Regions from separate parts of the Homo sapiens genome. Here region 2 is linked to region 1. Evidence: promoter capture Hi-C in human tissues and cell types (Jung and others, 2019). All regions are on one chromosome and are shown on one strand. The core of a region is centred on a gene start or on the middle of the fragment in contact, and the rest is flanking DNA. Distances in the headings are between cores, read along the strand shown.

Region 1 (4,873 bases), core at 1,581-4,080:
TCAAGCAAACTTAGCAGCAACAAGATGAATTTTTCCCCCAGGGGAGGGGACAGATTCAAAGGGTATTTTTTTTTTTAAATCTGCTAGAAAAACCAGTAGAGGGAAGTATCAACCATCACTCAAGGTCACTCATGAGACTTCCAGGTAAAACATGCAAAGCCCAGGGAGAAGCAGCAGCCTGAGTTTTTACAAGAACGGTACTTAGGCAAGAACACGAAGTCCCCAGGACAGGGAACCTACCACGGCAGACGCCGTGACACTGGGTGTGCGGATGGGAAGGGGCAAGGACTTCTAGACCTTTCCTCTCACTTTAACTCAGCAGTGGAGCGGGTGCCTGGGCACCAGTCACGGCAGTGGGAGGAACCGGCTCCAGTTCTCAGGCTGTGGAGCCGTCTAGGCACCGTGCACGAAGTGGGTCTCCAGGGCTCTGAGAGGCCGGGCTAAGACCTCTGATGGAGAACAGAGCACTGGAGCTGCACCGCTGTCCCAGAAACACAGGCCACAGGGACAGAGTGGCCCAATTTCCCTTAATTTAAAAACCCCACGTCAGGGCAGTGTTGGAAAGTTCACTCTGCTAAAATTTAATTCAGTGTTTGTAAATAGTACATCGTCTGACAATAACAACTGTGTACCCCCCACGGCATTTCCTCTAAATCCTTGGAGCAGTTTCACCGTTCACAGGGTTTACCTCCTGACCTCTGTGACCACCAGGGGCTGGGGAGGGACGGAGGACGCAGGGCACTGGGTCAGCCTGGCCCTGGTGGAACTGACCTGGGGGCCCTTAGGTAACAGTCCACCCAACCCGAACATCCGAAACAGGAGTGGAACTCAGGTCTGAGCACAGAACGACTCATCCTCACACAAAACAGCTAAACCCGAACAGAAATCACCTCATCTAAGCAAAAGAAAACTCTCACGTTCAGGATAATGCTGTCAGTGAGAGGCTTAATTAAATGCTTGTCCCCAGGCTGGCCTGAAGGCAAGGCGGAATTTCGGATTTCTAAACACCTCAAAGTGAGTGCATTCCACGCCCCAAGGAGAAATCTGACAGTAACTCCCCAGCCCTCTTCCTTCAGTTACGGAGAAGATGTCTAGCTTTTTAGGGGACACAGTAAGTTCCCACCTAAATTTGCAGTAACTTGTGCCCAAGTACTCCCCTCACTCCTCAGTCCTTTCTGCAGTGGTAACCAGGCTGAGGTGCCCAAAAGTGCCAGTTGGAAACACGTAAAACACACCGAGCAGAAAGGTTCTACTCTGATAAATACTGTCGCTTGCTTCATTATTCATGTGAAAAACCCCTTCTATACATTTCCTTTTGATGAACAAACTATTTTCCACTCTTGTAGAGTGAAATAGTGCCTTGCAGAGGCAGCGTGAGTGCCAGCAGCAGAGATGTATCCAGTCTGTTACCCAAACGGGAAGTTAGCTCTGATAATAGAGCCAATATGAAAGATTCTACAATCGATACAATTAAAATGCCCGTGAGTTCTCGGCGCACAGGTGTCTGCGCCCAGGCCGCGCGCTAAACACGTTTCTAATTAGCATTTCTTTAAACAATGCTGATCACAATCTTGCCACCGTAATCCACTCCAAATGCATCGTTGAGATTGCAGCACGGAAAGCGAGAGAGGAAATTCGCTGCGAATCTCAAACTTTCTTTTGTTTATATTTCTTCGCTGTCAGAAAATATCCGTTCTTCGCCCCATCTGGTCTGTACCCTGGCTCCTCGGTCCAGCCCTATTGTGTGTGCTTCGTTAAACCTACAAACAGTGAATCTGTCAGCGGGGCCAGGGGAACCCCAACTAGCAGGAGCCCTCCCTCTGGCGCAGAGAATTCCCCGTTTGCCTTAGGGATTGAGTTGTCAGACACCGGCTCGCGCTCCCCCGCGAAACTGACATGTCTATTTACAGAGAAACAAAGACGCGGCTCGCAGCGGACCCCGCTTCCTCCGCGCGCCCCGTCCGCCCCGCGCGCCCCGAGCCCTCCGCGCCCCGAGCCGCCCCGCCCCGAGGCCCCTGCGCCCCGGTTCGGCCGGCGATTAAGATGGAGACCAGGCCGGCGCCCGGCGTCCGGGGAGACAATGACCCCCCGGCCTCAGGGCGCCGGGACCCGCCCGCGCCCACCTCCCGCAGTTCCGACTCTTGGCAAACTCGGCGCGGGCGGCTCCGGGTGCGGCTGGGCTGTGCCGGCGGGGGGCGCGGGCGGGGGGCGCCAAGACGCCCCCGGGCTGCCTCGGGGCCAGGCGTTGACGCAGCAGAAATTACCAGCTGGAAAATTCCCCTCTCGGAGGTGCCGGGGAGGGAGCGCGGCGGCGGCGGGAGGTGCCGGGGGCCGAGGGGCCGGGGCAGCCCAGCCGCCTCCGCGCTCAGCCCCGCGGGGAACCCGCGCCGCCCCCGCGCGCCCCGCCCCGCGCCGCCGGCCTGGGGGGCACCCGCGGGGGCCGGGCCGGGGTCTCCGCCGCCGCCCCCGGAGCCCGCGCCGCAGCTGGGAGCGCCGATGGCCCCCGGGAGGGCGCCCCCGCGGGGCGGGGCGTGGCGGGGCGGCCGGCGGCGGGGGCGCGCCCGGGCTCGCAGCGGCCCCGGCTCCCGGCTCCCGGCTCCGGGCCCGGCCCCCGCCGCGATGCGCCCGCCCGGCCGCGCGGACAATGAGCCGGCGCCGCTTACCTGTGACCCCATGGGGCGCGGGCGAGGGCGGGCGCCGCGGCCGCCGGGCCGGCGCCGGTGATCGCCGCCGCCGCCGGGAGGGCGCTGCGTCCGGGCGGGTCCGAGCTGCGCGCTCGCCGGGGCTGCTCGGTCCGTCCGTCCGTCCGTCGGTCCGTCAGGCCGGCGCGCGCCCCCGCGCCCGCTCCAACCCCGCGGCCCCCGCCGCCCGCGCGCGCGCGCCCCGCCCGCGGACCCTGACCCCGCCCCCCGGCGCGCGCCCGGCCGCCGCTGATTGGCCCGCGCCGCGCCCCGGCCGCGGCCACCGCCCCGGGCCCCGCCCACGCCGGCCCGGCCGCCGGCCCCGCCCCTCGCTCGGCTCCCGGCGCCGCGCCGCGGGGTCGCAGGGGGCCGCGCCGGGGGTCCGTTCTCCCCCCCGCGGGCAGCCGGACAGCGGAAGTGCGGGCTGGAGCTCGCTGGGCATTGTGGGAAGCCCCCTCCCCTGGGCTGGCGGGGGGCTGGGGCGGCGCGGCGCGGGGGTCCCCCTGGCCCCCGCTGCGCCCTTGCCCCGCGAGCGCGGAGCAGCCTGGAAACACCCCACGGGAGCGGCGACCCCGGCGAGGGCACCCGCTCCCTTCCCGGGCCGCGCACCGGGCGCTGCCCACGCGCAGGTTCCTCGGGGGCGCGCGGGTGCCCAGGTCACCGGCCGTCCCCGCGCCTGACGCGCGGTTGCACTGCGCGCGTCTCGCAAACTTGGCGACTCCCCCAGCCCGGCCGGGCATCAACGCGGGCCGCTCGCGGTGCGGAAAAGGCGCCCCCAAGGAAGGCCGCCCGGGGTGCGGGGTCTGGAAGGGCCTGGGCACCGCGCGCGCCTACCCTCGGGGGCCTCGGCGCACCCGGAGATCGGCGCACCTCGGGCGCAGGCCTCGTGGGGGTGCCCGCCAGTGGGGCTCGCTTTTGGCTGACTAGGGGCACCGGCGGCCGCGCGTGGGTCCCTCCCGTCGTGTTGTCTGCGGGGGACGAATGGCTCCGGGAGGGGGCGGGAACCAGCGGCCCGGGCCTCGCCCCAGCCCGTGTGCAGCCCCGATCCGAACGGCCTGGGACGCGTCTCCACCACTCGGCGCCCGGACTCTGCGCGTCGCTTCTCGCCTCCGCCGTCCTCAGCCCTCGGGCGGGTAGAGTGGGAAGCGCGGCCCCGCATTCCTGGCCGGCCTGCGCAGGGGTAAAGGCCACCTCGCTTCCTCTCCCCGGGCGCGGCGGGAAGGGAGGTGAGCCTGTGGCCGGCAGCCGCGCGAGGGAGTCGAGCCCGGCCCGGCCAACCAATGGGGAGGCGCCCGGGCCGTCCAGCCTGCCTCCCTGCGGGCCCAGCGCAGCGGATTCCTCGGGAGGTGGGAGGCGGCGGCCCTATGGGTGCTTTCAAATCTGGATGTGTGAGGCGCATTCAGGAGCGGCAGTGGGAGGCGGCTGAGGGCTCTCCATGAGTGAGCAAAGGCGAAGCGAGGTGTGGCTGCCGGGACCAACGCCTGGGACACTCCCTTACTGCCGTCGCGGGCGCCTGGAAATGGCTGTGCGGACACCCCGTTCCCATCCCCTCGCCAAGGTCGCCGGGATGGCACTGCGGCCCAGGAAGCCCCGTCGCCGGCCTACCTCGCGCGGCACCCTCTCGGTGGCACTGCCTGCTCTGGTCTGAAACTGTAGCCCCAGCCTCACCGACCTTCGGGAAGTGGGGGCTGAGCACAACCACCCTGAGAAGAGGCGGCTTCCAGGAGGGTCTGGCGGGTCACGTGCATCCCCCTTGGAGAAAACAGCACTGCCTGCAGGAGCCCCCACCTGCCCACCCAGAGCCCAGTTGTACCCCACGGAGGAAAGGAGGCCTGGGGAGACAGGAGAGCTCGGGCCCACCGAGCCAAAGCAAGGAGGACCAGAGCCCTGATGCCTGCCCCAAGGGCCTCCCGCAGAGCCTGCCCATGCTCTCTTGCGCAAAAGAGAACCCCAGTCTCTCCCAAGATGTCTGGACCTCCCTAGACAGCCTCCAAGGAGAGCAGTGTTGATGGTTTGCCATGTCCGTTGTCCATGCAGGGATGGAGAGCAGCAGCAGCTGCCTGGCGGAACACACAGTGGCACTCAGTCATCGCTTAGGAGGCCTGCCCATAAGAACCAAACCTTGATCTCACCACGACCCAGGCCAACCCCACCTGCCAGGTTAGGGCTGCCTGTCTTGGTAGAAACTTGCT
Region 2 (4,873 bases), core at 1,558-4,057, 130 kb before region 1:
CCTTCTCCAGTCCCCATCGTTGCACTGCCCTCTCCAGCACGGCTCACTGCACAGGGATTTCTCTCTCCTGCAAACCCCCCGAGTGGGGCCCAGAAAGCAGGGTACCTGGCAGCCCCCGCCAGTGTGTGTGGGTGAAATGATCGGACCGCTGCCTCCCCACCCCACTGCAGGAGCTGAGGAGTGTGAGCGTGCCGTCATCGACTTTGTGGCTTTCCAGGACATCTCCATCAAGAGGCTGCAGCGGCTGCTGCAGGCCCTCGAGGCCCCGGAGGGCTGGGGTCCGACACCAAGGGCGGGCCGCGCGGCCTTGCAGCTGAAGCTGCGTCGGCGGCTCACGGAGCTCCTGGGGGCGCAGGACGGGGCGCTGCTGGTGCGGCTGCTGCAGGCGCTGCGCGTGGCCAGGATGCCCGGGCTGGAGCGGAGCGTCCGTGAGCGCTTCCTCCCTGTGCACTGATCCTGGCCCCCTCTTATTTATTCTACATCCTTGGCACCCCACTTGCACTGAAAGAGGCTTTTTTTTAAATAGAAGAAATGAGGTTTCTTAAAGCTTATTTTTATAAAGCTTTTTCATAAAACTGGTTGTAGTTGCACAGCTACTGGGAGGGCAGCCGGGGACACCTGAGCCGCCCGCTGTGCCCAGATCCCTCAGGCTGCCTGCCATCAGAACTGCTGCCCGGGGCTTCCCCTACCTCAGACAGACCCTCCCTGGGAGGATCAGTGGGGAGTGCCACCTCTGCCCCCAGTGGCTGTGGCACGTGGCAGGGGCCCCTGAAGCTCAGCGAGGGTCAGGGCCTGGGAGGGTATCATTGCTGGAAGAACAGGATGGGGCTCAGGCCAGCCCTAGTCGCCGGGGCCCACACTAACCCCCCACTTATGAATTCCTCCCACTCCCAACTCACAGGGGATTTCCCGAGAGGGGACCTGCCAAAGACCTCCTCCAGGCCTCCCATGCTTTCCGGGAAGTGAAGCTTCTCCCTCTCTGGGGCAGGCTCTGAAGCCTCCCGATGCACCCAGAGCAACCGGGGGGCTGCACCAGCCACTCGCCTCCCCAGCACGGCCAGGTTCCCGGGGCTGGAGGTCCCCCCCAGGTCCTGGGAACCAACCTGCAGAACACACACAGGGTCCCCTGGAGAGGACGCGGGGACTTCCAGGGCCCGACTCCTGTGAGTCACAGCCCCGCAGCTGCTGCGCCACCCCCACCCTGACTCATGCCCCTTCCCAGCAGCTCCTCCCAGGACCCCATGTCCTTCCCACATCCGCAGGAAGGGAGTGCCTGGACTCTCCAGGCCCACCTGGGGAGCCCCTCACCTGCCCACCAGCCCCTGAGCAGCCCAGTAACACCATCACCGTGTCCAACAGCCAGGAGCCTCCACCCTCCAGGAGGGAAGGGATGGACAGAGCCACACTCGCCGTCTTTATTTTGCACTCACCCTGGGTGACACTGGGCAGGCCGCTCCTGCCCACAGCCAGACTGAGGAAGAACACAGCACTCGGCAGGCCCAGTGGGGTCCGTGCAGGGAGGACCCCAGGACCAGCCTTACTCCCGAGCAGGGGACACAGGGCCCCACAGAGAACCCCTCCGGGAGGTTCTCTCCTGGCTGGGGGAGGGCTCTGGACCCCCACAAACACTCCCCAACTTGCGGGGCTGGGGCATAAAAACAGCCACTCCCAGCAGGCCCCCTCAGCTTTTTGCATCAGTCAGCTCCCTCCCGGGGGATTAGGGTGAGGTGAAGCCAGGCCCAGGCGTGGGGTATAGGTCTTCCCCCGCAGGCCTCAGCCCTGTCCCGAGGCTGCATCACAATCCAGGGCCCCCGCTGGCCTTTGGGAACATGGCCTGGGTCTTCCTCAAGGCAAGATCAGCCCCAGACCACTTCCGGGGTCACGGGGTCACGGGGTCACAGGGCAGAAGCCAGATGGCAGCCATGGCTGACGGGCCTCCTCCTCGATGGGGCGGAGACAGCCACGGGGTCTCCCGAGGGTCCCACAGGGCTGTCCTCATGCAGCCCAAGCCAGCCTGAGCACTGGAGCCCCAATTCCCAACCAGGTCTCCCTCAGACCCCCCAGAAAGGGCCTCGAAAGGCCGCCGCTGCGCCCTGTGGAAAGGCTGCCGCTGCAGGGCCTGGGCCAGCCGGGCTGCCAGACTCCCCTCCAAAGCCTCCGGATGCCTACGCTTTTCCAGACATAGAGGAAAGTTTGTCTTCGAGAAAACAAAGTAAATAGAAGAACCCCAAAGCAAAGCAAACCCACCCCCCAGATCAGCAGCATGGGAGCCAACAGGAGGCCACTCCTCCAGCACCAGGGGACCAGCCGTCCCGACGGCAGCGCGGCTGCGCCTACGTGATGTCCCTCTGCCGCGGCGGCCGGTGCACATTCCGCACGACACACTTCACCATCCACTCGATGCCCTCGCGCACCCCTTTGCTGTGAAGACAGCGGGTGTGAGGCGGGGGGTCTCGGTCCCCAAAGCCCCCGCAGGTGCAGCCCCCACTCACCCTGTGAGGGCCGAGCAGGCCTGGGTCAGGCAATCTCGCCTGCCGATCTTGCTGGTGCAGTCGCTGAAGGCCGTCTTGATGTCAGGGATTGAGAGGCACGTCTGGGGGAGGTAAGGCCGTGAGGAGCAGCCCCCACGTCTGGCCCTGTCCTGCCTGTGGGCCCGGGACTCTCAGAAGGGCGTATGCCCTTCACCCCAGGGAAACAGCCAGAGCTCCACCAGGGTCCCAGTGTCTCCCACAGAGACCACAGCAGTGAGGACCCTGTGCTCAGCCCGAGGCTGAACATGGCTGGTAGTGCCTGAGACAAACTAGACGTCCACACGGCTCCAAGGAGTCCACCCCCCATCCCCTCCCTGGGGGACACCCTGAGCCCCGAGGTGGGGCGCTGAGGACTGAGGCCTCCTGGGCAGTGGCGGAGGCAGGTCCCAGGGGCCCACACAGCCGGGGATGATGGAGAGGTGGGAGCCCTGCATCAGTGATGGAGGCAGTCTGCAGTCATGGTGGCTTCTGCTCACAACCACCTGCCCAGTCTTCAAAAAGCAGCCCTCCCCTCCCCTTTTCCTCCGAGGGGAGACCCCTGCCCCGTACCAGATGTCCCTCTTGTCGGCTGAGATTGTAGGGGAGGCCAGCCTTACAGGCTGGGGGCAACAGAGCCACCCCAGAGAAGGCAGGAAGTGAAGATTCACCTGGCCCTCTGGACGCCGGGCTGCTTCTGTGCAAAGCCACTCCAAGAGAACAGCTAGAACTCAGCGTGGCCAGTGCTCCCGGGGGCAGTGGCACCTCAGAGGGGTCTTGAGGGGCTGCCCTGGGGGTGGGGCTGGCACAGATGCCACCTCCAAGGGTAGCAGGAACAGGTAAGGGTCAGAGCTGACTCCCACCAGGGCCCCAGCATCACTTCTTTGAGCTCTGAGTTTCACCTGGGTGTCCCCACAGCTTGGCCACACACTCCTGAGACACGGCCGCCCTCCTGGGGAGAGGTGCCCTGCATAGCAGGAAGAGGCCTCTGGGCGCCTGCCCTGAGGTGGGAGAACCTCCAGGGCTGGCAGCAGCAGGTCTGGAGAGGAACCAGGCTTGGGAAGCTGCTGGGGGCAGGGCAGGCCTTGAGAATGGCTCTGTACCCCCTGGGCAGTCACTGGGCCTGGGGTGTCTGGGTGCACACCTGCTCCCCTTGCTGTGGGGGAGGCTGGGGACTCGGGAAGCTGCTGCGGGAGGCAGGGGTGGGGCTCACCTCCACATCCTGCTTGTTGGCCAGCACCAAGACGGGGACACCGCACAGCGCCTCGCTGGTCACCACCTTCTCTGGGGAGGGCAGGAGAGGCAGCGCCTCACACCCAGCATCCTGCCTCTGACTGCCCAGGGGCCCACAGGCGTGGACACTGTGACAGCCACTCCCTCTGCCCCCCCCCCCCCCGTCACCCACTAGGCAGGAGCACTTCTGACCAGACACTGAGCCTGCCCCAGGCACAGAGCTGCCCAAGCTGGACCTGCCCCCACTCACCATCCATCCCTCCCAGAGCAGCCAGGCCGCACTCACCAAACGCCTGCTTGGACTCAGCCAGCCTCTCCTCGTCGGTGGAGTCAATGACGTAGATGACGCCGTGACACTCCGCATAATACTGGGAGGAAGCACCAGGAGTTGGGGCTCAGTCCCCACCCTGCCAAGGGCCAGCAGAGCCAGGCCTGTGTCATGGCCACAGTGAGGGGCTCACATGAGGAAGGGGCAAGAGGGCAGCCCCCAACTGCAAGACCCTTCTGGGATGCATTCTGGGGTTGCGGGGAGATCTGGTGGAGGTGTCCCCAGACGCTGCTCCTGAGAACCTGCCGGCAACCTTTGGCCTGATGGTGGCCAAAGGTGAAAGACAGGGATTGGGCCAGGCGTGGTGGCTCACACTTATTATCCCAACACTTTGGGAGGCAGAAGCAGGAGGATCACCTGAGCCCACTTCACGGCCAACCTGGGCAACACAGTGAGACTCCGTCTGTACAAAAGCTTATGGTAATGTGCGCCTGCAGTCCTAGCTACTCGGGAGGCTGAGGTGGGAGGATGGCTTGAGCCTGGGAGGTTGAGGCTGTAGTGAGCTCTGATCACACCACTGCACTCCAGCCTGGGTGAGAATGAGAGACCCTGTCTCAAAAAAAAGATAGGGTTTGGGGGCTGGAGGAACCTAGACCACAGCCTGGCCCGTTGAGGGAGTGCACCTGTGGGGCTCTGTGCCAGCACCTCGCACAGGGAGGGAGTGTGGCCATGCGGATAAGACTGACCAGCGCCATCTACGAAGCGAGCCTTCCCTGCCAGGACAGGGCCAGAGTCACTGAGCTCAGACCTCTGCAGCCTGGGCTGGTCAGTCCTGGGCTCGCTGGCAACACTCCTGGGCAAGACA

The links. Contacts are between HindIII fragments. The study calls those that stand out against the background at their distance.
Region 2: a contact is called between a fragment that was not itself captured here and the fragment with the promoter of ZBTB46 in region 1, in 1 of the 25 tissues and cell types used here (IMR-90 fibroblasts).

The regions. Positions count from the first base shown.
Region 1 is chr20:63,828,434-63,833,306 of GRCh38, forward strand. ZBTB46 (zinc finger and BTB domain containing 46) reads right to left here and starts at 2,831. Exons shown (of 5, transcript NM_001369741.1): 1 at 2,664-2,831. RefSeq lists an enhancer at 575-1,266 and a silencer at 2,849-2,988. The HindIII fragment of the contact is 9,346 bases long and covers 1-4,804 here.
Region 2 is chr20:63,698,110-63,702,982 of GRCh38, forward strand. ARFRP1 (ARF related protein 1) reads right to left here. Exons shown (of 8, transcript NM_001267547.3): 5 at 4,027-4,108; 6 at 3,721-3,791; 7 at 2,493-2,593; 8 at 538-2,421. The coding sequence ends at 2,334. TNFRSF6B (TNF receptor superfamily member 6b) reads left to right here. Exons shown (of 3, transcript NM_003823.4): 3 at 171-575. The coding sequence ends at 454. It overlaps RTEL1-TNFRSF6B (RTEL1-TNFRSF6B readthrough (NMD candidate)), which reads left to right. Exons shown (of 38, transcript NR_037882.1): 38 at 171-589. Among named protein-coding and RNA genes, the nearest start is that of TNFRSF6B, 3.9 kb to the left of the region's middle. RefSeq lists enhancers at 793-842, 1,083-1,262, 1,333-1,382, 1,431-2,312, 1,453-1,532. The HindIII fragment of the contact is 4,084 bases long and covers 766-4,849 here.